Regions from separate parts of the Homo sapiens genome. Here regions 2, 3, 4, 5, 6 and 7 are each linked to region 1. The links are contacts of gene promoters, found by promoter capture Hi-C in blood cells and fetal thymus (Javierre and others, 2016). All regions are on one chromosome and are shown on one strand. The core of a region is centred on a gene start or on the middle of the fragment in contact, and the rest is flanking DNA. Distances in the headings are between cores, read along the strand shown.

Region 1 (3,582 bases), core at 353-2,852:
ATATCAAAAAAAAAAAAAAAAAAAAAAAAAAAAAACAAGAAAAGAAAAAAAAGAAGTAATATCCAAACTCTGAGCCTAAATTCGCAAAACTAAAATTCCAAAAATAAGCGAATGTGTAAAAAGTATGGAAAGAACAGACTTAAACAGGAAAGTATAAATATTCACAGGTGGTTTTTTTCCCCTTAGTTTTGCTAGAAAGTGTGCTACAGGTCTAAAGACTTTTCTCTACGGGAAGTGCTTGCTTAGAAAACCACACGTGAAAAGTATTTGAACAAGTCTATTCTTTCTTGATAAGTAATGAAGTGTAGAGATTTACTACAATTTTCCTACGTTTTAAACACTTAGTGTTTAGGGCAGTATTTCTGACATCCAGCAAAATGCTGGTTACATAGTAGGCACGCAAAAAACATTTTGTTAAATGAATTAAAATTAATGAATACATATTCAGATAAAAAAAATTCTCCTTTTGCAGTGCATACACCCGTGAAGCTGTCACCTACCTAGCAGCTAATCACGTTTCTCCAATTTCCTGGTGCCAGCATAATCTGTTCACACATCAAATAAGTGTGCCAAGCTAGTTTTTTTTCTTACCCAAACCTATTCCTTCTTGTTTCCTATTTATCAGAATGCAACCACAATCCTCCTACTCACCCGTTCCTCATTTTATTTGACAAATGCTTCCTTTCCCGCCTGTACAGACTGACACTCACTGACGATATTCTGCTTCTACCCATGTTTCCCACAATTGGTCTCAATTTCTGCTGCCACAGCCTCCACTACCTTTTGCTTGGACCAGTGAATACCCTCTGATTTTCCGTTGTCAGTCGCTTCTCATCAATCTATTCTTAATCTTGTTGCTTCGTTGCACCTCTACTCCCTCACCTTCCACCAAACAACCCAGTTAGCGTAGAGATTAGGAGAAGAGATTCTGGCTCTGAGCTTAACATAGTGATTGATCAAGAATTTAACCTCTGGAGCCAAACTGCCTGGCTTTGTCTGCCATTCGAGGACTTTTCCCAACCTCATTTCTCACTTTGTAGTCAACCCAAAACACCTCCCTCCATCTCCCACCTAGCTTGTGTTTCTCACTTAACTTTTAAAGTCCAGCTCACATGTCACTTTACTCACTTCCCAGAATTGTAATCTTCGTTTCGAACTGCTCTCGCACGGCAGCTATACTTCTCAGTACCTGCTTTTGTACCATTATGTGCGTTTTTTCTCTTTTTATAAAAAATCTCTTTCAGGGAACGCATAGTTCTTGAGGTCAGGATATTATTGTTTTATTTTTATATCTCCAGTAAGTCACAGTGTGACTTGCACTGTGGTTGCTCGATAAATGTTAGGTGAATGACATCAATTTACAGAAATAAATCCAACTCTGAGCGTCTCCCCTTGAGGACCGTGTTTTGTTCATCTGCACGCTCTCCAGGTCCTGCACTGCGCCCAGGACCAAGAAGACGCTGGACCCTTACTAGGAGAACCGAGGCAAGAGCCGGCTGGAGCCGCGGGGAACCCGCTCGCCCCGCCCACCCGCCTAGCGCCGGTGAGCCTGCGGCTCCCGCGAAGCGCGGCCCCGCCCCCTCGGCGCCAGGGCGCACGCGCGGAGCTGGAGCCGGCGCGGAGGAGCGGGCGGCCGCGGCTGTGCCCTCTCCTACTCCTCACCGCGCGAGCGCGGGGAACCAGTAGCCGCGGCTGCTTCGGTTGCCGCGGTCGGTGGTCGTTATGGATTCTCCATGGGACGAGTTGGCTCTGGCCTTCTCCCGCACGTCCATGTTTCCCTTTTTTGACATCGCGCACTATCTAGTGTCAGTGATGGCGGTGAAACGTCAGCCGGGTGAGTGCGGGGCGCCGCGGGCCGGACCCCTCAGAGTGCTCCTGACGGCGAGGACCGTCTAAGTCGGGTGGGTCGGGTGGGTCGGGTGGGCGGCTGAGTGGCCGCTAGCCCAGACAGTTCGATGGTAGAGTTGGAGGGGCGCCAAGGGCCGGTTGGTCTGACTTACTGAGTGCAGATGGGGAAACAGCGTGGGGGAGGACGGAGGCTCTAGTACTCCTCAAAGGAGGCGTGACCTGGGGTCCGCGAGGCCGTAGCCTGGGCGAGCAGGGCCGACCTTGCCAACCGCCCGCAGAAGTCCCAGGACTGACAGAAGCTGCCGCAGCGTTTCGGAACCACAGATATCCGCGCCAGCCCAGGGCTTGGGCGGCCTCCTCGCGGTACCGCCACTCGCTCGCAGTGTCGCCACTCGCTCGCAGTGTCGCCACTCGCTCGCAGTGTTTGAAAGTCATGTGAGGAGACAGCAGGTTTCTGACTCAGTCTCTTGGAGTAATAGATGGTTGCGGACTACTCTCCAGTTATGAAAGTTGTACAAGCACTGAAACAAAAAGCCTCCTGTAGCCAGACCAGGATTCCCCTTCACGCAGTGTCCTAACACCCTGCCTAGCATGTGAGAAGCGAGTGCGTTCCCCTTTTCACAGTCACGACGGACACTGTACAAGCAAGAGTTACCTGGCGTAGTTTCACTATCTGCAGAATGGGGATATAGTCTTGAAACAGCATTTTGAGTTCTTTTAGCAATGCGATCAAGGGACAGTAGTTGTATTTTATTGGATTTTACACCAGGGTGCGTTTGCTCTAATACTGCTTTACTTTTGTAGTTATTCTACTGTGCTTTTAGTTGTATGGACCTCTTCTTTCTTTGAGGTCAGACATTTCTTTGCCTACTTTCTTTGTGTTCTTGCTGTCTTTCATCTGCCTTGCCCTACGGATAGTTGATGAGTGAGGTCTGGAGGATGATGCTGTATCTTTCTTATGGACTACTTACTGGTTTTAAAAAATCCTTAGACCTCAGAAATATTTTTCATTTATGTTGAAGTTTGTAGCTCAGTTTAAATCGTTGGTACAAATTTTGACCTGGATGAGGATGGTATTACTGCATTAAAGTAGAACACATTATCTGCATAAGATATTATTTCTTTGATTTGAAAAAAGTAAGTTTTGTTGCTACTACATGTTCAGAATTTGATTAAAAAAATTTTTTTTTGTATAGGCTGAATCAGATGTTCACATTGTGGTCCAGGGACCCATGGGATTCTCTGACACTGCCAGTTTAAAATTACTTTCGTAATAATATGCAGATGTTATCTTTTTCACTCTCATTTTTTCAGAAGTGTACAGTGGAGTTTTCCAGAGGCTACCTGAGTTGTGATACTGTAACAGAAGGAAGTAGATATGAGAATCTAACAGTTTTCTATTTGAAGCCAGACATTTGTTAGAATGTACACAGTGTGATTCTTCTCACTAAATGTTTTTTGTTTTGGAAAAGTTATTTTTCATAAAGAATACATTATCATTATTATTATTATTATTTTTGAGACGGAGTCTCTCTGTCGCCCAGGCTGAAGTGCAGTGGCGCGATCTCGGCTCAGTGCTGCAACCTGTGCCTCCTGGGTTTAAGCGATTCTCCTGCCTCAGCCTCCGGAGTAGCTGGGAGGCGCCTGCCACCAAGTTCGGCTAATTTTTGTATTTTTAGTAGTGGAGACGGGGTTTCGCCATGTTGGCCAGGCTTGAAGAATACATTATTTATG
Region 2 (3,776 bases), core at 842-3,341, 770 kb before region 1:
GGGAAATTTTTGTGAGGTTCTCTTCGTGGGAAGCAGGGATTCGGCCATGGAGGGCAAGTGACTTGCTGATTTCAGTACCCAGAAGGTTTTTTTAAATATGAAATTTGTCCACTATGAGATGAATGTGTATATACTACCCATTCTCTTCTTGAAGTGTCAATGAAAAGTCGGATTTTAAAAGCTAATGGTATCAGTGCTGCAAAGGCAGGCCAATTACTGCCAGTGCCAGACAACTTTTTTCTTTGTTTATTTTTAATCTTATTTCTTTGCTTCTTTTTGATAAAAGATATACCTAAAGAGGCACCTACACATAACCCTGGCACCGTCCGCCGCCCCAAGAACCTTCCTGCTTTACCAATGGCCTGGGAGTTGGCAAACACGCTAACAAAAAAAAAAACCAAAAAAACAAAAAAAAAAAAACAAAACGGGCTTTCGCCTCAACCTCATAGTTCCTCCCCGTCTGCAACCACCGGTCTTCACCGGATTCACAGTCGGAACCGCGAGCAAAGACACCTAGTAGAGCCGGCCGATTCCTAGGTCCTCCGGCCAGGAGGCGCTGCGGGCCAGTCTCCGGGGGCCACCGCAGCCCGCGCGCCCAGCACCCCCACCCTCACGGCAGAGCCCAGCCCAGCCCCGCGGCGGAGCTCCGAGTTCTGCGCCGCCCGCCGGGGTTACTCCCGGTCATTCCACGGCACCACCTCGGCCCAGCTTCCCCATCTGCGCCCAGGCAGAAGCTGCCCCGAGAGACCAGCAGCAACGGTCTGGAAGATGGGGCTGCAGGGAACGTGGGAGAGGGAGGATTGGGCACCCCACCTCCGGGTCTCCGCAGGCTCTCCTAAGTCTTGTTTTTAAAAGAAACAAAACTCGGCCGCGCGCGGTGGCTCACGCCTATAATCCCAGCACTTGGGGAGGCCGAGGCCGGTGGATCACCTGAGGTCGAGGGTTCGAGACCAGCCTGGCCAACAAGTTGAAACCCCGTCTCTACTAAAAATACAAAAATTAGCTGGATGTGGTGACGCGCCTGTAATCCCAGCTACTCAGGAGGCTGAGGCAGGAGAATCGCTTGAACCCGGGAGGCGGAGGTTGCAGTGAGCGGAGATCGTTCCATTGCACTCCAGCCTGGGCGACAGACCGAGACTTAAAGGAAAGAAAAAAAAGAAAAAGAAAAGGAAACAAAACTCGTCCGCGCTCTGCGCCAGGGACACCAGCTCAGCTGAGCGCACGGAGACTGTAGGCAGGACCTCCCTACCCCTCAGGTCAAACAAAGACCCAAGGCCTCTAGTGAGCAATAGCACCACGGACCGTTTGGGACACCTCCAACTCGAGTTCCCGGATTCACAGTCCGGGACTGTGCCGCTCCAGTCCCGGGGAGCATATAGCCAATTCCCAGGTCAGAACAGACCAGCTTCTTAAGAACCGAGTGAAGACTCAGTGCTGGCATTTGTCTCCGTAGGTACTGGCCGACCTGCAACCAGAAGGGTTTCTAGCCAGCTCAGGGCCCTCCGAACAAAGCAGCGCTCGGTGCCGGACCTGCAGCTCTCCCCACCCGGCAGCAGCGCCCTCAGCACGCCCGGGAACCCCCGACCCCTCTGAGCCCGGGGTACTGCGCCCGGGTCTCCACGCCCAGAGATGCTCCCCGGTCTCCACCGTCGGGCAAGCCCCAAGCGCAGCAGCGCAGAGTCCTGGGGTCACCAGAGCTCGTACTAGGACATCGTCTCCCCATTTAACACCGCCTCCGGTCCCATCTGAGTTGCAAGTGGTGGGGATGTGGGGCTCCGGATCAAAGTCCCCGAAACCGAGCACTTCCCGAAGCCTCCTTGGCCTCGAAACAAAACAATAACGCCCAAGTAAGTCACTGGAGAGCCTCTTACCTGTTTTCCACTTTTGTGTTTGCGTCTCTTTCTCCTACCCCTTGACAAGCCTTCCGGAGAAGGGGAGAAAACAGAACCGGGGAAAAAACAAGGAGCAAAGCGCCCTGAGAACCGGCTCTGTTGGTGCGCGGAGCTCCCCGCCCTGCCCTGCCGCAGCCCGGGAGAGAAGGGTCGGCTCGGCTCTGCGGGTCCCGGCCCCACTCACTCTCGCTCGCAATTACGGGGTTTTTGCCGGGACTAGTTCCTTTTATAGATTCGGCTGCACCGAGCGCAGAGGTTACTATCGGTCAAAGCCTGTGCTCTCCCTCCTCCCCGCCCCGTTCCCGGCCTCTGTTTATGTAGTTCAGTCACTCAGCAGAAAGCACGTGGAGCCGGGGCCCGCCCCTTAAACGGGCGACGTTCAGCCGCCCACGACACATCTAGGGAGTTGGGGGGAGGTGGGTGGGGTGGGGGTGGAGGGTACAGCAGGTGTCTTAGGGTCCGCGGTCTGCGTCCCCTTCCCCCGCCCGGGCCCGCCGGCCTAAGACGCGCGGGAAGCGCTGGGCTCGGGGCTGCGCCGCAGACTCTCTAGTCCACGTTCCCGGCAGCCAAGGGCACCAGTGGAATTTGCTTCCTCTAAATCCTGCTTTCCGCAATTTTTTTTTCCTTTGTTAGTTTCCTCAGCCGGAGGGAGGGATTGGGGGAGAGAGAGCTCTAGGCTGAATCTCCCTCAGGACGCCAATCATTTTGTCTTGTCTTTTGTTTCCTTTCAAAGGCCTAGGCTGGGGTGAGGGGAAGGCGGACAGTCCTCTGGGTAATGGGCTGCTTTTGTTTTCCCCCCACAAACCTGGACTTTGATTTTTGATAGGCGACCTACTGCCTTGGAGATTCCCAGCCTGAGCTCCCCAGGTCCCTCAGAGGACCCGAGAGGAACATCTTACTGCTTCTCTTCATAAATTGAGAGGAAGGAGGCCACAAAAACAAAAAAAGAAACAAACAAACAAAAACACAGAACAATATGGACCAGCCCCCTTTTAATTTCATTATATTGATCAGCCTCCCTGTGATAAAAACACAGGACTTGTATTTAGTTTGTATACATTTGTGAAGTGCAGCCAGAGAATTGCAGTCGTGTAAAATTATGTAGCCACTCCAGACCTCCAACTTATCTGTTTGCCTTTGGCTGTAGGGGAGCAAAACTACCCAAAACACTGGAGGGGCAAAAAAAAAGGCAAGAGTAGGAATGCAGGCCTACACACCATATGTCTAAATATTTAAGTCATCCATCAAGCCAACAAACTAAATGTCACCTTATTCTGGCCAAAACTCAGGTCAAACTGTGAAGAGTCTAAATATGAATCTGCCCTGAAGGGCAGATTCATAGAAGACTCAGGACAGACCCGTAGAAGAGGCCCAAGCAGGCCCTGGAAGTGCACGTGGAGGCCACAAGGTCTCCTACCTTGACAAAGATACCTTTGTAGCCACCTTGAAGGGCAGATTCACATTTAGACTCTTCACAGTTTGACCTGAGTTTTGGCCAGAATGAGGTGGCATGAGAGAGCTGCCCCAAGCCTACTTCTCTTCCCACCTCCAGCTCCATCATATTCCAGAACTCCCACCACCTGCATACAGACATTCAGCTGCACAAGCCCCCTCCATGCTACAGTCAACAGGATCTCCAGGCCACGGCTCAAGCCCAGGTACTCACATCAGTGGTTCTATCAACACTCAGGACAGACCCATAGAAGAGGCCCAAGCAGGCCCTGGAAGTGCATGTGGAGGCCACCAGGCAAGGAATTCTGGAGTCCCAGGTACTCATAACTCTGGGTGGCATGGCCCCTTTGCACCATGGACTGTTTGCCCTTAGAAAGGGATGGATCTGAGCTGGGCGCAGTGGCTCATGCCTGTAATCCCAGCACTTTGGGA
Region 3 (3,492 bases), core at 118-2,617, 950 kb before region 1:
TCAGTAAAACATACATCCAAAAAAAAGATTAGTCTGGAAGTTTTTGTTTTGTTTGTTTTGAGATGGAGTCTTGCTCTGTCGCCCAGGCTGGAGTGCAGTGGCACAATCTCTGCTCACTGCAACCTCTGCCGCCCAGGGTTCAAGCGATTCTCCTGCCTCAGCCTCCCAAGTAGCTGGGATTACAGGCATGTGCCACCATGCCCAGCTAATTTTTTTGTATTTTTAGTAGAGACAGGGTTTCAGCATCTTGGCCAGGCTGGTCTTGACCTCCTGACCTCATGATCCACCTGTCTCGGCCTCCCATCACTTTTGGGTGATGGGATTACAGGCATGAGCCACCACGCCCGGCCGGAATATATATATATATTTTTTAAAGCATTCAAACCAAGCCAGGCATGGTTGTGCACCTCTAATCCCAGCCACACCTTGCGAGGCTGAGGGGACAGGATTGCAACATTCAAATCAATATGAAAAAGATGAACAACAAAATAAAAAATTGGGCCAAGAATATAAACAGGGACCTCAACAAAAGAAAAACAACATGGCCTATAAAATTATGAAAAGATTCTCAATTCACAAGAAATCAGAGCAATATAAATGAAATCAATGAAACATTTTTCATCCATAAGATATGCAAATATTAAAGTCTTACAAGAATTGCAAGAATGTGCAGGAAGAGGAAATACGATTCACTGCCTGGGAGCATAAATGGCTATGGTGAACCAAAAATTGTAAAGTTGACTCATTAATTCCACTTACAGGGATGTGCCTAAGGACATATCTACAAAATTACTCATTGAAGCATTATTTATAAACCTGGGAATATTTAAGTATCAAAAGAGAAAGAGGAACAAAGTTACAATATGCTCAAATATTGGATTGTAAGAGAGCAATTAAAATGAGCCAACCAGCTCTAAATGGCTTATTTTGTTACCTTTGGCAAACCACCTAACTTCTTTAAGCTTCCTCTTTGCTGTGTGTTTTAGTCTAAAATGTAAATATCAGCTTTACAGAGTGAAATGAAAGTAAGAAAGGACTTAAGTAAAAGGTATACTACATAACAGCATGTAAGAAATATCAGAAATAATAAAATCTGATGACCCCTTGTCGGTAAATAGGCATCACTGACATTCTCTGAGAAAAAAAGGGATGAGAACCGAACAAGTGATCTGAGATTAAGTAAATATTTCTTAAAACCTTTAAAAAATGAAAGGGCAGCCAAGTAGGTATGAGAACTAACCAAAGAGGGTTCAGTTCTCAATAAACAGGTAATTATAAAGGAGACTTTAGTAATATAAATTAACAAATATGCTTCATTCCAAAAACAAAGAAGAGAAAACAAACAAAAAACAACAAAGAGGCAAAGGACCAAATGTTTTTGTTTGTTTTTGAAACTCTCACCCAGGCTGGAGTGCAGTGGTGCATACTTGGGCCACTGCAACCTCCACCTCCTGGGTTCAAGCACTTCTCCTGCTTCAGCCTCCCAAGTAGCTGGGATTACAGGTGCCTGCCACCACACCTGGCTAATTTTTGTATTTTTAGTGGAGACACAAGGTTTCACCATGTTGGCCAGGCTAGTCTTGAACTCCTGACCTCAAGTGATCTGCCAGTCTGCCTCCCAAAGTGCTGGGATTACAGGCGTGAGCCACAGCACCTGGCAAGACCAACTGATTTTTAATAAAAAATAATATGAAACAGGACTTATACTGAAGTACCCTCTAAAGTTATGACTTTTATTAACTTTCTTCCCAGTTTTTATTTTGTGCTAAGTGGAAGCTTCAGATGACTCCAAGGGAGTATGAAAATTGGGAAACTTTTTTTTTTTTTTTTTTTGAGACGGAGTCTCGCTCTGTCGCCCAGGCTGGAGTACAGTGGCCTCATCTCGGCTCATTGCAAGCTCCGCCTCCCGGGTGCACGCCATTCTCCTGCCTCAGCCTCCGGAGTAGCTGGGACTACAGGCACCTGCCACCATGCCCGGCTAATTTTTTGTATTTTTAGTAGAGACGGGGTTTCACCGTGTTAGCCAGGATGGTCTCGATCTCCTAACCTCGTGATCCGCCTGTCTCGGCCTCCCAAGGTGCTGGGATTAAAGGCGTGAGCCACCGCGCCCGGCGGGAAATGTATTTTTTTAATACTCAGTATCTTTATATGAGAAGAAAATAATTTTGGATATGAAGGCAACTTCTAATAGCACTATTAAGCTATCATGAAAAGACAACTTAGAATGTTTTTCAGAGGGAATATTAATCTGAGAAGTTCTAATTTCCCATAAACTATTTCTGTTAACCTTCAAAAGCGATAGTGAGGCATTTGAACTTAGTTCAGAAAGAATGTGTCGAAAATCCTAGGCAGTATCGTGAAACACCTAATAAAGACCAAAAGAGGCAATAGGCCCCTTTTGGTTGGACACAGCCTACTTGCCCCTTGCATTAAAGTTCTAGCTCTCAATACAACATTGAGAATAAATAAAATACAACAAACTTAAAGATGCTATAAAAACAATCAATGAGAGTCAAGTAAATCTAACTCAGATTAGAAAGTTAATCAATTACCCAGCTAGTAGGTACCTGGGACAACTTGTGGAGGTAAAGAAAACACTGGCGAGCATCGAATAATGAGTGTTCATTTGGAAGGGGAACTTAATGAAAAAAAATATGTACTAACAAAGTGTGTAAGTGCTTAAAGCTAGAAGATATCTCGACTTAAACACCTAGTAAAAAAAAAAACGAGCCATATTTAATAAGAAAAATCTGAAACAAATAGCAAAAGGTTCAGAAATATTTGTCTAATAAAATTTCTCCCCGACTCCAGTTGTGAGGCACAGGGATTATTCAGAGCGAAAGATTTGCAAAGCCTATTTTGGGAAATAATTGTATTCACTGATATCAGGATTTAAAATGTCATTAGCACTAAAATTCATTTTCCAATGGAAAACGTAAAAGTCAATTTTTATATCTAAAAAGAGGTAATGGATATATAAACATGTTTATGTGTTTTAGAAATAAAAATACTTCATTAATAGAAAAAAATTAAATACATTTCTAGTATACTTAAATATTTAGCTATTCACAAGTCTTTACTGCTTTACTCCAAGAACTCTAGCTGAAAAGAGACTAATACAGAAATATCAAGACATGCTGACCACCTCAGAAAGAAGCATGCAGTGGTGGTTTTTTCTTTTTTCTTCATTAAGGCATTTAATTCAATGTTCAACATACAACAGGTGCTTAACAAATATTTGGTGATATCAGTAGGTCTCTTTTTAAAGAAAACTGAATAAAAAATGATTTTTTTAATTATTAACCCGCCTTATTATTACTAGTAACCTGCCTTTACAGAAGTTTTTCTTCTATACATAATCCAGTATCACACACAAAAAAAACTGTAAGTTAAGTCTACTCTATAAATACCTATAACTTACATTACAGGAACTCAAAAATAACAGAAATAGACATATGCACACACTAACACCGAATGAAGGAAAAGTGAGTC
Region 4 (3,587 bases), core at 701-3,200, 730 kb before region 1:
TGGATAGAGTACTTGGAAATCAGAAATGACCAGGCTATGAAGCATCTAATTTCCCAGCTCTCTGGATAGGAGAATGAGCCCAAAGAAATAATTTTTGCCCACCCCAAGGGTTCCCACTATCCATATGGATAGTCAGCATTTGGTGATTAACGATATTTCACATCCCACCAACAAAAAGTAGAGAAAAAAATCAATCTCTCACATGGTCCTCTGGGAAGGTGGTGAGGCGTTGGTGCCTCTTACTGGCAGACTCCGCCCACCTCCATACTCACAGCTCCCTATATAGCCCTCATGCATATGGCTGCATGAGTCATCCTGACCCTTAGTAACCTTTGTTGCCTGATTTCCTGTTCTTTCAAATGAGAAAGCTCTACTACATCATTTCTCGGAGAGACCTAAGTCCTCACCTGCCTGGGAGTCTGAAACCTCTGCCCTGGAAAGCCATGCTAGCCAAAAATCAGCAGCCAGGGCTATACATTGATAAACTAACTAAAGTAACAAGGTTTAAGCGAGAAATTCACTCTTAAAACATCGCTCTTTGTTGGTAGAAATGGAGCCCCTCACATAAAAGTATGTTGATCATAGTTCTGTTAACTAAGAACTTTTTTTTTTTCTAAACTGCTGCTGTTTATTCCAGTGGTATGATAATAGAACTTGATCATGTTTATACAGGTCAATGTTTTTTGGCGTTACTTCATATGGGAGTAAGCCCCATAAAGTGAATTCAAGTGTGTGTGGGTGGATGTTATTAGCTGCTGACACTGCCTTGAAGATTTTCTGTTTGCTGCAGCTCTACACCATGGTGTAAAGATGGACCACTTTTCCCTTCTCCGGGTGTGAGGCAATTGAAATAGGCTGTATCTGGCTTTTTGCCTCACAGAGAATCTTGTGTGTAAACCAGCTGAGAAGGTGAAAAGTCAATTGCCCATGGCCAAAAGCTAAGCAGGCTTTCCTTAAAGACAGAGAAACTCTTTCCTACCACCTTCAGCCAAGGCATGAACGGGGTTATAGTCCTGGCCTCAAACAGTTCCAACAATTTAAAGGTTATAAAACGATTAGCAAAAACAGTATGGCCAAAGAGGAAGACTGAAAAGCTTATACAACTCTAGGCTCTATCAGGTAAAGATGGTGTCTTTTTTAAAACCTACTCATAGGCTGGGCGTGATGGCTCACGCCTGTAATCCTAGCACTTTGGGAGGCCAAGGTGGGCAGATTGCCTGAGCTCAGGAGTTCAAGACCAACCTGGGCAACACGTTGAAACCCCGTCCCTACTAAAAATACAAAAAATTAGCCGGGCGTGGAGGCATGCACCTGTAGTCCCAGCTACTCAGGAGGCTCAGGCAGGAGAATTGCTTGAACCTGGAAGGTGGAGGCTGCAGTGAGCCGAGATCACACCACTGCACTCCAGCCTGGGCGGCAGAGAGAGACTCGGTCTCAAATAAAATAAAATAAAATAAAGTAAAATAAAATAAAATAAAATAAAACCTACTCATTAGGTGCTCAGTAGAGTAGTGTGCAAATGTGGGTTCCTAATTAATAAGTCTTGTTTGCTGATAAATGGAAAGGCATTCTCATACACATTATTGAGAACCCAGGAGGACTTGTGATTCAAGGTATAAAGTCGAAGGTGGAAACCAGAAAACAAGTCCTATGTGTTCTTGTTACGAAAAAAAAAAAAGACACATTTTTCAATAGCCAATTATTATAGTGACAATGTGTTACTAAAATAATAAGAAAACAAGGGTTAAAACTTTTCAGCAGAACTGGATTTTCAGTTAAATAGCTTTAATATAGCAAAATACAATATGTTCTCTGCAGGTGGATCTCTTGCTGTTTCAATCCTTTAAAAAAGGTACAAAAAACATCTTTTCTAAAACTGAAAACTGATTGCAAGGGAGAGAAGAGACTCTCGTGTAAGAATTTGGCTCACCTGCCAACTCACTGGTATATATAATTCCAATAGATTAATCTGGCGTTTTGATTTGAAGACGCGAATGGAGAGATGTGTTTAGTGCTTACAATTGCACCTTCTCTCTGCATTCACCATAGACCTGTAGTAGAAAGCCATGCCCTCAGCCTGCACCTGCTCCACTCCTAGAGTAAGAATTTTTTGGCCAAATTTAGGACAGTTAGTGTCAGCTAACCATGTTGTCTCCACTAGTCCCACTGTGTTGCAGGAATGTGGAGACACAAAGCTGCGCAGATGGCTGTCAGCAAGATCCTACCTGCTTTAGTTCTCAGTGCCAAGGAGATCCTATAGTGAGTGATGGCTCATAGGATTGAATTATAAGATAAACTCAGAAAGTTATTTGAAAATGTTAAGTGTGGCTGGGTGCGGTGACTCACGCCTATAATCTCGGCACTTTGGGAGGCTGAGGCAGGCAGATCACCTGAGGTTGAGAGTTCGAGACCAGCCTGAGCAACATGGAGAAACCCCGTCTCTACTAAAAATTCAAAATTAGCCAGGCGTGGTGGCACAATGCCTGTAATCCCAGTTACTCGGGAGGCTGAGTAGGAGCAGGAGAATTGCTTGAACCCAGGAGGTGGAGGTTGCAGTGAGCTGAGATAGTGCCATTGTACTCCAGCCTGGGCAACAAGAGAGAAACTCCATCTTAAAAAAAAAAGAAAGAAAGAAAATGTAAGTGTAACTTCAGTTCCCCAAACTGGTCCGTCTTTTCCTTCCTTTTTTTTCTTTTTGATGGACAATTTCAAGAAATAAAGAAATAAAATGTTACAGACATGTTTGAAGTTCCTTCCAATTTTATTTCCTTCCTTTCCCCTGAATTTGGTGTTTATTAATCCCATACAAGCTTTTTATATTTTCTACATAAAAGTGTCCATAATCAATAACTAGTATTCTTTTGTATGTTCCAAACTTTATATGTGGTATCATACTGACACTGTAGACATCATTCTGTAACTTGCTCTTGCACAAATTATGTTTCTGAGATTTATACATGTTGATAATGCAGTTACTCATTTTCTTTATAATATTCATTTTCTTTGTAATTTCATTTGCAAGTAGCCGGGCGCAGTGGCTCACACCTGTAATCCCTACACTTTGGGAGGCCGAGGCGGGTGGATCACTTGAGGTCAGGAGTTCAAGACCAGCCTGGCCAACATGGTGAAACCCCATCTCTACTAAAAATACAAAAAATTAGCCGGGCATGATGGCAGACGCCTGTAATCCCAGCTACTCGGGAGGCTGAGGCAGGAAAATTGCTTGAACCTGGGAGGTGGAGGTTGCAGTGAGCTGAGATCATGCCACTGCACTGCAGCCTGGGCCACAGAGTGAGACTCCATCTCAAAAAACAAAATAAAATAAGTAATTTCATTTGCTTTGTAATATTCCAGTGAATGAAGTAATCAACTATCCATTCTTCTCTTAAGGGACATTTTATATTGTTTTCTATTTTTGGCTCTCATCATCATGAATGTCATGAATATTTTTGACATGTCCTTTTATGCATATATACAAGAGCTTCTCTAGAATGTATGCCCAGAGTGAACTTGCTTTGTAATCTTGACTTTTATGATATTGCCAAACAGAATCAAGTTACATTAACATCAATAGTAGATGAGATTTT
Region 5 (3,750 bases), core at 907-3,406, 910 kb before region 1:
CCTCATGGGTAACATATTTTCATCTAAATTACCTGCCTTTTTATTTTTCAATAAAGTTTTTTCCTCTCCCTCGTCATTGTTCACGAAGAAACAGTGTTCTATGATTTCATTAAAGTCACTATAACATGAACTTCAAGATAGGAGGATGAAGTTGTGATGCTGATGCTCAGGGGGCATCTTGGCTCACTTGAAGCCAAGATTTTTCTGCACACAAAGTTCAGATCTGTGCCACAGGAAAAGGACTGCTCACGACACTGTCACAGCCATTCCTGAGGTCACAAATAGAGACAGCCTCTTGTACTTCCTCAAAAGGACTGTTTGACAGGGATTCTTCAAGTAGCAAAATAAGCAGACATCTCTTTCTGAAACTGATTCTTAATGAGCTATGAAAAATACATTTACATTTATCAGCACTGCTCATATGTTGTCTGCACAGCACTTATTACAGGAAAAAAGGAAGGAATCACCGATATTAGTATCATTTCTGTTTCCATATCTACTTCGCCTTCCTGCTCACCATTGCCACCACCCCCAGCACCTTCCCAGTATAACTGCTACATTGTGTCCTTATATTTTTGGTTGAATAAACAAAAGGACACTGAAGGCTGCCTTTGTAGCTTCCCCTATACCAAGTGAACATTTATTAAATAAGCTCAGCTACAGAGCATTTTCAGAAATCTCAGTGCAGCTTCATAATCATTAAGCAGAATATTTATCTAAAAACCTCTAACACTTAATACCAGTTACTCAGTATCTTAACCAACATGAAAATACAAAACAACCTTTTATTTTCAAGTAGTCCCCTCAGTTCTCTTTTATGATTAAGGGAACATTTGAATCTTTTCTAAAGTTTTTCCTTTTGATCCAAATCACTTCCCCTCTACTTTTCTAATGGCTTTATAACCCTTCAACAGTAGGTGGTGCCACAAATGCACAAAAGTAAATTTCTGTAGACCAACAGAACTGTCACAGCTTTATTTTGTGACTCATTATATTACAACATAGAAATATGCATTTTAATACTTCATATAAAGTTATTGACATACAAAATTTTTTTTCTTTTTTCCTTTTAATGAAAATGATTTAACTTAGAAATCTGTTGTGAAACTTTTGTCTAGTTTTGCAATTCTCAGATATTCCAGTGCAAAAATAGATCCCATTACAGACAGCGTAAAGTGCTTGGAATGAGGGCCAATGATGAACAAAGAGCACAAAAACAGCTTCATCTTAGGGTATAAGAAGGGATAATAGCATACCTAAATCCTTATGGAAATAGAAACATTCTAAGGGGGATGCAACAATTTTGAAAAGAATTAGAGCAATATTTCTACAGTATTACATTATTACTAGTAGATAATAACAAGGGTACAAATTAATGTCTCAATATCAAAGTGGTTCAGTATTACATGACACATGGCTCTTTGGAAAATATTTTACCTGATATATACAACCACAAGAAGAAAACACAGACAAATGGCTTTAGTCAATGATTACTATACAGTGAATGAATGATGTGCAACATTTAATAGTCACAAAGCATTTGCTTTCAGTACAGATAATGAAATACAGTAGTGTGAGGTTTGGTTGTTTTTTAACAATGAATTGTGCTGGGCATTTATGTATAGAGGGCTTATTATTTTCTTCTGTATTTCTCATATTCACAGTTGTTAATAAGTTTTCTGAGGTGTCCCAAAGATGCAAAAGCAGAAATTTTTGAACACGTATTTTGAGAATTTCTGAAACTCACATAGGTACATTCCACAGGGAATATACAGAAATTTTGCTTGATTGAGTATAGAGTTGGTAAAAATTTCTACCACAATTAGGTTTACACAGGAAAATGTAAAAAATTACTATTTTAAAAGGTAACACAGTATTAATGAAGATGTATAACTATAGATTGTTTCTAGCTTCAGAAGAGGTCCTTTCAATCTGTATTAAAATGTTGTGTTTTCTTCAAAATAGTTCACAGTGCCTTTTGATTTTTTAAAATATGGCCTTGAAATCAGAGGAACCGAAGTAAGGAGTTGCTCATAGATTTACTATAATGAAGAATTAGAATACGATTTTAGTAAAATGAGGAAACCATAACTTTGATTTTGAAAAATATTAAATGAGGAGAAATTATTCTATAAATTCTGTATTTTTGAAGATACTGTAAAATGCAACGATGCCATATCACTAGTTATTGGAAATATGCCTTCATTACTTATATTTAAAATCAATATTGACTTTAACTTCTAAAACAATCATTTTTTTCTTTTTCAGCAGTGGGTTATATAATATTCTGTAAATTTAAAAAATATAGAAAGATTAATTTGAAATCTGAAGTCTTACACCTTTAGCGTTAATATTCAAATTCTGGAAAAAGTGGAAGAAGTTAGTAATGATATTGAAAGATCACTTGAACTTCCCCAAACAATAGTTCTCTCATATTTTTCTTTTCTCTCAAGACAGTTAACAGTAAGTATTAGTGAAACAGTATTTTTACAAATGTTTACTGACTAGAAAAATAAGACTGGGTTAGAAAACTCTGAAAAATGCTCCATATGGAAGTATTTGTTGTTTTTATATTTTTCTTGACTAGTGATTGAAGAGATGAAAAATTTGAGACTGTCAGATTTAATGGGGTATCCAATATCTGCAAAGCCAATTATTTGAAGGTACTAAATGCCATAAACACAAGTTGTGTTTTTCAGCAAGTTTTCAAGCTAGCTGTTTTCCCTGTTGAAGAATTCATTGTTTAGACTTGTGACCCTTATACTTTCTTGGCTTTTGCATTGTTGCAATTAAAAAAAAAAAAAAAAAGGCTGCCCAGTATTGTTACAGTGGGCTCCTACAACCACAAGACAACCTATATTTGTAAACCAGTGAGCTGAATAACATGGCACAGGAAGTGTACTGAGACTTAATATCTCTCTAGTCTTATACGTACGTACATACTCTTTCAGCTACAGCATACACTCAAAAAATATTTGATTGATGAAGTGAGATTAAGAGTATCCTAAATGATCTGAAAGAAACTCAAATATAATGTCATGAGATCCTGACCATCACATTGCTTTCTAGGCACTAGTCATGACTGATATGCAAACTTACATAAGAAAATAAAAATAGTGGGGCAGTGGCCATACTCCTCTATACCACAGGGTTCTACAAAGAGGCCATTCTAAGGATTCAGAAGTCACTGATAGAACTTAAAATTCCAAATAACATTAAAAAGTACAAACATTTTTGTCAAAATACAACTCCATCTTTTCATTTTCTAGATTAATTCAAAAAGCCAGAAATAATACACTTGTGTCAGATAAACATCTTGAGATGCAGTGTACCATGTTAGCAGACAGTCAGGACAAATGGGCACAGGCTTCCCTAGGTTTGAACGCACAATCTCTTTAATCCCATGCCCTGGCTTCAGCAGCTTGCAGCCCCAGCAGTTTGGCTGTTGATTCTTTGCCTCTTACCAGGATCTAAGTATATTTAAGAGTCTCATAAGGATGACCCTGTAGACCCATGGCTCGAAGCATAGGACAATATAACAATGGAACCAAGTTTCCCGTGCCTGGAGACACCCACATTTTTGTTGCATGTTACTGCCACCAGAACAGCTTATCAGAGGGAATCAAAGCAGGATGTTAGCCACGCATGGCACCATTCTGTCAACTGATATTCAATGTTGATAGACTCTGAGCAGAGCAGCTTTCACAAAAGTGAGCATGACACACCATGGTGCTTCAAACTTTCTGAAAA
Region 6 (4,083 bases), core at 869-3,368, 830 kb before region 1:
AAATGATGATGTTTGGGGTAGCGAGAGGAATTTCACCAGAGCTCTCAGAACACCTAGAGACATATTTGTTCTGGAACTATATAAAACACTCTGATGACCAAACTGCTCAGGCTCACCAGTATTTTTTGGTTAAGAATGAATGGGTATTCTCATAGAGTGCTTCTCTGAACTATTGATTCCTAGGCTGAAAAAACTTCGTCGGAATTTTTCTTTGCAATGTTATTACTAAGTAAGCTAAATAGTGTGGTCTCATCTAATTCCAGGGCCTTCCAACTGTGACAGCCCACAATGTCATCTTTATGATGGGTTTTTAAACATAAATAGATATCCATCTTCCCATCAATGGTTTCAAGACTTTTTTTTTTTAAATATGAAGAACTCTGTTTTCAAATGAGCTCTTGCTTAGTATTATAATAGTAAAAACATGAAAAAGCAGGTCTTCTCTGATTGAAACAAGCACAAAAAACTTTTGGCTTAAACTCAGCCACACCCAGCTTATTCTTCCCATTCACCCTTTGGGAGATGGCCCAAAAGTCTGAAAGAACACTAAGAACACTTAGAATACCACTGAACTAAATTATATCACAAACTCCCAGCCAGCCGTACTTTTCTACAAAACAAAGTCATGCTGTCCAAGGAAAAGCCTCACATTCCGAAAGCATTAGTGCTTGAAGTTTCTCCAGTGAGCAAGTCTACTCACCAGGATTGGCTTCAGGATGTCCATGTTGGAACGAAGTACTCGCTCTGCTGCAGCCAGTTTCTCCCTTGGTAGGCCACAAAGCTCAGAAACTTCTTGGTCACCAAGTTGAATCATCTCTTCTGATTTTGATCCATTGCACAGACTTGTCAAATGTAACTGGTAGCCTTGCAAAAATACCTGGAAGCATTTCATGCAAAGAGAGACAAGCACAAGAGGATTATGAAGATTGGAAGCTGGGTCCTTGAAGTCTTTTGGAGAACTTCATATCAATACAGCTTTGAAGATCTTAAAACAGGTTCCATTGCAACAGTCCAATGCATCAGGTCTCTTTACTGAAACTCAGAATGTATCAAAGCACAAGGCACAATGACAGGACACTTAAAACCTGCAAGTTGCATTAACTCAGTATCTCCCACACTCTTGTCCCTCTTGCAAAGAAAAATCCAGAGTCCAACTCGTTTTCTTAAGAGTGGGACACATGATTTGGCAAACAGGAATCCAGAGTCTGAATTCCTGGAACCACTTTTATTAGATGAACAACATCCTCACTATTTTGCAATTTATGTTGTCTTTAAGTAGGACTGGGCTGAAATATGGGGAGAAAGCATTTATGCTATTTATCTGTAAGTGTAGATATTTAACTAAGACACAGAACTATGTTCTAACAATTTCAGAATTTGGAATTCTCCATTTTACTTGCCCTAGAGCAGAGTGCCAGAAAGCCAGGCCTCTTATCTCATTGATAGGCCAATTCTAAATCATTCTTATCTTTTCTTTATACCAAACCCACTAGAGAGCCTCTTCTTGGTCATATTTTACTTAATTGCCTTTCTGGACCTAAACTATTCTACTTCATACGTGGTCCAGTGGACCACAAGCTTTGAAAGAAGAGCCTGTTTATCCTGCTCACTTTGCATCCACAGTGCTGAAACATTATAGCCAGTATTTGTTGAAGGAATGAACAATGCAGACTCTTTATTACACCATTACTAACTGCCCTGTTTAAATTGGGGCAGGCTGATGTGCTTGTAGAACAACCTAAGGTGAGTGATGGACCAAAAGCCTCTCAAAACCCATGCAGCTTTTGAAATACTGCAGAACATTTGGCCTACCATGATTCCCATTAAGTTTTTGCTGACTGCCAGAGATACTCAAGCACACTTCAGTTCTACTCATTTCTTTAACTGGTCCTTGCTGCTAGGCTGTCAGCCTACAGTTAGTGTCTATGTTTAAGAATACTGACAACAGGCCGGGTGCAGTGGGTCATGTCTGTAATTCCAACACTTTGGGAGGCCAAGGCAGACGGATCACCTGAGGTCAGGAGTTCAAGACCAGTCTGGCCAACCAACATGGTGAAACCCCGTCTCTACTAAAAATACAACAATTAGCCAGGTGTGGTGGTGCATGCCTGTAATCCCAGCTACTCAGGAGGCTGAAGCAGAGAATCACTTGAACCTGGGAGGCAGAGGTTGTAGTGAGCTGAGATCACGCCACTGCACTCCAGCCTGGGTGACAGAGCGAGACTCCAACTCAAAAAAAAAAAAAAAAAAAGAATACTGACAACGGAGGGCCTTTGTTGATGTCATCTTCTGCCTCTGCCCAATCATGCTTTGTTCCCTTTCCTTTCCTTACACAAGTATTGATCCCAAGAATTTTTCAATAAATGTCTTGTATGCTCAAAAAAAAGAATACTGAAAATACAGAAACTCCAAGGACCATCCAAGGACCATCTCCATGCTTAGGATGCCCCTTATTTTAAACTGATTAGATGTGACAGATATGAAATTGGCAGGGGGCAATGGAAATTATGCTAAATGCAACTACTTTCAAAAGCCTGATGCCTTTGGCCCATCTCCTAACCACACAATTGGTAAACACAAGGCATATTTTCCTAGTTTCAGAAGGGCACGCAGTAAGCACATTTTTCTAATTTTAAAAATTCTAGATCATGTGAAGCAAAAAGCTTATTTTCAAGAATAAACATTTCCACTACTTCTGCTTCTTGTAAAGACAAGCTAGTATGCAGACACGAGATAGGGGAGGAAGCAGTTCCCCTTTCTGCCAGAGAATAAGCTCAAAAAGTGTCTCTGAAAAATCAATAACCATGCAAGCTGGGTCTGGTGCTACCCACTGCACAAGAGCTGTCTAATAATGATGCCAGAGGAAGTTTTCTATGATTCTAAAGTTAAAATTCAACATAAACACTAATATTATTTCCTGATTTTATAAAATTCTTTTTTTTTTTTTTTTTTTGAGATGGAGTCTCACTCTGTCAGCCAGGCTGGAGTGCAATGGCGTGATATTGGCTCACTGCAACCTCCGCCTCCCAGGTTCAAACGATTCTCCTGTCTCAGCCTCACGAGTAGCTGGGACTACAGGAGCATGCCACCACGCTGAGCTAATTTTCATATTTTTAGTAGAGACAGGCTTTGCCATGTTGGCCAGGATGGTCTCGAACTCCTGACCTCAAGTGATTTTCCCGCCTTGGCCTCCCAAAGTGCTGGGATTATAGACGTGGGATTACAGACCTTTGAAGTGATCTCGTCCATCCCACCTGAGCTTTGTGACACTAGTCCGTTCATTTCTGTTTCCCCAGTGCCATCTCACAGAGCTAAAATTGGAGAGATTTAAAGCCTTATTCCCACAAGCTGCAGGGACTGATCTCCTATTTAATGCAAAGCAAGCAACAGTTCTCAACTCAGTGCCACTGCGTCCAGCCCTTATTTTATAAAATTCTTAAAAGTCTCCAAATACACCCTTGTCTAAAGTCTCCTGTCCTCAATTTTTTAGACAGAGCTCCTCCAGATCAATAACCCTTAACCACGGTTATTGCCTCAGAACTGTGAATATTTTTTAAGTTTAACTCAACTTAAAATGTATCCCTTGTAGGAGGAAATCATCACAAATGCCAAGTGATAAGCCAGAAATCAATTTTATTTTAACCAGCTGGCCCATGACGCCAGGTTGCATATTCCACTCCTGGATGGTTTGGCAATTCCTGCCTGAATAGGGAAGTAAAATTAAGTGAAGTTGTATTCAAACTACCTCCCTCCCCTTCACCACCATTACAAGGACAAGGGTTTATTCATTTCTTTCCAGTAGCTGCACAACGTAATTGCCATCAGCCCTACTGAGGAAGCTGGAGGCATCAGCTTACCTTGTGGAGAATGACATCAGCCCTCAGCATCTTGTCCACAGTAGACTTTGGGAGAGAGAGGTTGTGATACAGGAACCCAGAGAAGGTTTCATTGTCCACCAGGAAATCTTGAAGCTTCAAGTCTATTGAGAAATAGTGTTTTATTTTTATTTAGTAAGTAACTCAAAAAAAAAAAAAAAGTGGGCACAATGGGACAGTGGAGAAACGTTATCATAATATTGATGAT
Region 7 (3,629 bases), core at 868-3,367, 930 kb before region 1:
TTCTTTTTGTTGAGTTTTATATATTTATCTTTTCTGAAGCTATTGCTGTATTGCTATAAGGTAATGAGACAATACCAATTTACCGTCTTTACTGTAAATATTAAGTTACCTCAAGAAAATTGTATCCCACTAACCCCAGAATCAGAGTTTCTTTAGTACTGTCACAGATGTGGTAGTGTTTTCCTACAAACAACTTTAATTTTTAATTGAGTGCTTCCTATTAAAGTAGATTTGGTACTTCCAAGACTATGAAATCTATATTTACAGCTATGTTATTTTTACATTTCTATGTTATTTTATATTTTTATTTTACACTGCTATTACATATAGCAAAGATAGTAAATTATGAATTAGCCATCTGAGGGAAATTGGAAAAGCAGAAAGTATAGTAACCCCTCATTTATCTAGCTCCCAGGGATTCAAAGGACAGATGAGTTTCCTACTAAGGCAAAGAAGACCCAACACTGGAGGTAAAAACTTATCACGGAAGTTAGAGGCATTGGCTCTGAGTTTTGTCTAAGAGTCTTCCATCTCAATGTTTATTTGGAAAGTTTTCACTCAGGAAATTTAAGCATCTAGAGTTTACATGTACAACTGCTGTCCTCCTACCCAGTTGGGCCAGCACTGGATACACCTCTCCTGCTTTTGCATGAGCCTGACCTTTAAAAAAAAAAAAAAACATGCAAGAACATCATCAAGTAGATTGTTCCCTTTGCCCACTTCTTGTAATTCCCACCATCCTTCAGCTAATACTTATTTGTTATGAGAGGTGTAAAAATGCATCTTCACACTCATCAGATCAGATGGGCAATAATAAGAAATTGGTCAGGAAAACCTCATACACTGCTATTAAGAATATACATTTATAGAACAGTTTGGCACGATTTAATAAAGATGAATATATACATAACTTATGACCCAGCAATTCCATTCCTAATTATATACTCTAGAGTAGTGGTTTGTAACCTCTAGTACACAAATCCTGAAGGATAGAATTCAGAGTCTGATAACTTGGATAGGTAAAAGTTCCATCTTTATTGGCACCAACTTCTAAGCATTTCCTTTGTTTGTGAAGGTAGGCAACAAACCACAATATTATTAGCAGGACCTGCAACTTTTTAGTCAGTAAAAATCACAGATACTGTCAAATTCTATTTATAGTTGTTGCAAATACAGAAAATTTATTTTACCTTCATCACTACTTCAAAATTATTATACCTCTTACACCTACCATTAGATATTGTTATTTAATATCTTATAAAGAATAGGTCTATTTCTTTATCAAGAATTTGCTTTTAGCAGTCCTAAGCAAAAAGAACAAAGCTAGAGGCATCACACTACCAGCCTTCAAAATATACTATAAGCTATAGTAACCAAAACAACATGGTACTGGGATAGAAACAGAAACAGACCAATGGAACAGAATATATAACCCAGAAATTAATCCATACATCTACAGCCAACTGGTTTTTGACAAAGGTGCCAAGAACATACACTGGGGAAAAGACAGTCTCTTCAATAAATAGTGCCAGGAAAACTGGATATCAATATGCAGAAGAGTGAAACTAGACCCCCACCTCTCACTCTATACAAAAATTCAGTTCAATGGGTCAAAGAGCTAAGTGTAAGACCTGAAACTAAAAGTACTAGAAGAAAATATAAGGGAAATGCTTCCGGACATTGTCTGGGAAAAAGTTTTATGAATAAGATTTCAAAAGCACAGACAACAAAAGCAAAAATAGATTATGTCAAACTAAAAAGCTTCTGCACAGCAAATGAAAAAATCAACAGAGTGAAAAAACCACCTATAGAATGGGAAAAAATAATTGCAAACTATTCATCTGACAGGGATTCATATCCAGAATATACAAGAAACTCAAACATCTCACCAGCAATAAAAACCAAACAAATCAATTTAAGAATGGGCAAATGATCTGAACAGACATTTCTCCAAAGGAGACATACAAATAGCTCACAAATACATGAAAAATGTTCAACATCACTCATCATCAGGGAAGTGAGGTATTATCTCACCCCAGTTAGGCTATTATCAAAAAGTCAAAAAACAAAGCTGATGAGGATGCAGAGAAAAGGAAAATCGTATACACTGTTGGGAATGTAAACTCTTAGAACTACTATGGAGAACACTATGGAGTTTCCTCAAGAAACTACAAATAACCCACTACTGAGCATTATCCAAAGGAAAAGAAATCAGTATATCAGAAAGACATCTTCCCTCCCCCATGTTTATTGCAGCACTGTTCACAATAGCCAAGATACAGAATCAGCCTAGGTGTCCAGCAAGATTAATGGATAAAGAAAGTATGTTATATATACACAATGGAATACTATTCAGCAGTAAAAAGGAATGAAATCCTGTCCTTCACAGCAACATGGCTGGAACTGGTGGATATTATGTTAAGTGAAATATGCCAACAAGAGAAAGTTGCACACCACATGTTCTCATTAATGTATAAGCTTTAAAAAAAGTTGATTTCAGAAATAAAAAGTATAACAGGATTCTAGAGGATGGGAAAGATTAGGAGGAAGACAAGGATGGGAGAGATTTGTTAAACAAAATTATAGCTAGATAGGAGGAATAAGTTCTAGTGCTCTATACCACTTCAGGATAACTATAGTTAATAATATATAGTTTCAAATTGCTAGGAGGATATTGAATGTTCTCAACACAAATGATAAGCCCCCGGGGGAGTGGCTTCTGTGAGACCTAAATCCTCATCTGCCACAGAAGGAAGGCAACACATACTCTCCATAACTGAAAATGCAAGAAATAGCAGAAAATGACTATTATTTAAAAATACGGGCCAGGCGCAGTGGCTCGTGCCTGTAATCCCAGCACTTAGGGAGGCTGAGCCGAGAGGATCACCTGAGGTCAGGAGTTCAAGACCAGCCTGCCCAACATGGTGAAACGCCGTCTCTACTAAAAATAGAAAAATTAGCCAGGTGTCGTGGCGTGCGCCTGTAATTCCAGCTACTCAGGAGGCTGAGGCAGGAGAATCTCTTGAAACCGGGAGGCGGAGGTTGCAGTGAGCCAAGATCATGCCACTGCACCCCAGCCTGAGCGACAGAGCAAGACTCTGTCTCAAAAAAATAAAAAACATACGGAAACAGGTATTAGAAGAACAGCTTAAAATGTTGAAGGTGGTTAGTCTGGGGACCAGTACTCTGGGACTGGGAGGACTAGACCAGAGGTCGGCTGTTTTGCTCTTAAGGCTTACAGAACGATCTAGTTTCAAACTATCTATGTTTAACTTCGACTTTTTCCTATCAGGCTCGGTGCTGCTATTCCACTGAGCTCATGGAAAATTAAATCTTTATTAGGAGCCTTCCAAGATCACAGTGGGGTGGCAATGGGGACAGATAATGCAGAAAAGCGAAGGCTCACTGGTCTACAAATACACGTCTATCACAACCTGTAAAAGTTAACCCTGTCCCAGCCTGGCCAATATGGTGAAACTCCGTCTCTACTAAAAAATACAAAAATTAGCGGGGCGTGGTGGCGGGCGCCTGTAGTCCCAGCTACTGGGGAGGCTGAAGCAGGAGAATGGCGTGAACCCGGGAGGCGGAGCTTGCAGTGAGGCGACATCGCGCCAGTGCACTCCAGCCTG

What was found. Contacts are between HindIII fragments. The CHiCAGO score rates a contact against its expected background, and 5 or more counts as called.
Region 2: the fragment with the promoter of ABCA1 here is called in contact with the fragment with the promoter of TMEM38B in region 1 in 2 of 17 cell types (naive CD4 T cells and monocytes); the score reaches 6.8 in naive CD4 T cells.
Region 3: a contact is called between a fragment that was not itself captured here and the fragment with the promoter of TMEM38B in region 1, in 6 of 17 cell types (monocytes, naive CD8 T cells, total CD8 T cells and 3 more). The highest score is 10.2, in monocytes.
Region 4: a contact is called between a fragment that was not itself captured here and the fragment with the promoter of TMEM38B in region 1, in 2 of 17 cell types (naive CD8 T cells and activated CD4 T cells). The highest score is 5.0, in naive CD8 T cells.
Region 5: a contact is called between a fragment that was not itself captured here and the fragment with the promoter of TMEM38B in region 1, in 1 of 17 cell types (monocytes). The highest score is 8.4, in monocytes.
Region 6: a contact is called between a fragment that was not itself captured here and the fragment with the promoter of TMEM38B in region 1, in 1 of 17 cell types (total B cells). The highest score is 6.0, in total B cells.
Region 7: a fragment that was not itself captured here is called in contact with the fragment with the promoter of TMEM38B in region 1 in 5 of 17 cell types (total B cells, activated CD4 T cells, naive CD4 T cells and 2 more); the score reaches 10.3 in total B cells.

Annotation. Positions count from the first base shown.
Region 1 is chr9:105,692,939-105,696,520 of GRCh38, forward strand. It overlaps TMEM38B (transmembrane protein 38B), which reads left to right and starts at 1,603. Exons shown (of 6, transcript NM_018112.3): 1 at 1,603-1,834. The coding sequence starts at 1,723. RefSeq lists a silencer at 1,437-1,706. The HindIII fragment of the contact is 6,405 bases long and covers 1-3,582 here.
Region 2 is chr9:104,926,064-104,929,839 of GRCh38, forward strand. It overlaps ABCA1 (ATP binding cassette subfamily A member 1), which reads right to left and starts at 2,092. Exons shown (of 50, transcript NM_005502.4): 1 at 1,872-2,092. LOC105376196 (a long non-coding RNA gene) reads left to right here and starts at 726. Exons shown (of 3, transcript NR_188620.1): 1 at 726-1,847; 2 at 3,445-3,661. RefSeq lists silencers at 486-725, 2,062-2,251 and enhancers at 1,402-1,461, 1,782-1,861. The HindIII fragment of the contact is 9,744 bases long and covers 1-3,776 here.
Region 3 is chr9:104,740,076-104,743,567 of GRCh38, forward strand. All of the region lies in intron 1 of LOC107987105 (a long non-coding RNA gene), which reads right to left. Among named protein-coding and RNA genes, the nearest start is that of NIPSNAP3A, 5.9 kb to the right of the region's middle. The HindIII fragment of the contact is 814 bases long and covers 961-1,774 here.
Region 4 is chr9:104,961,119-104,964,705 of GRCh38, forward strand. No RefSeq gene overlaps it. Among named protein-coding and RNA genes, the nearest start is that of CT70, 29 kb to the right of the region's middle. The HindIII fragment of the contact is 1,716 bases long and covers 1,093-2,808 here.
Region 5 is chr9:104,780,058-104,783,807 of GRCh38, forward strand. ABCA1 (ATP binding cassette subfamily A member 1) reads right to left here. Exons shown (of 50, transcript NM_005502.4): 50 at 949-3,750. It also overlaps a transcript of NIPSNAP3B not described here. Among named protein-coding and RNA genes, the nearest start is that of NIPSNAP3B, 18 kb to the left of the region's middle. The HindIII fragment of the contact is 6,350 bases long and covers 1-3,750 here.
Region 6 is chr9:104,857,822-104,861,904 of GRCh38, forward strand. ABCA1 (ATP binding cassette subfamily A member 1) reads right to left here. Exons shown (of 50, transcript NM_005502.4): 6 at 3,858-3,979; 7 at 701-877. Among named protein-coding and RNA genes, the nearest start is that of ABCA1, 68 kb to the right of the region's middle. The HindIII fragment of the contact is 1,085 bases long and covers 1,577-2,661 here.
Region 7 is chr9:104,760,128-104,763,756 of GRCh38, forward strand. No RefSeq gene overlaps it. Among named protein-coding and RNA genes, the nearest start is that of NIPSNAP3B, 2.2 kb to the right of the region's middle. The HindIII fragment of the contact is 717 bases long and covers 1,760-2,476 here.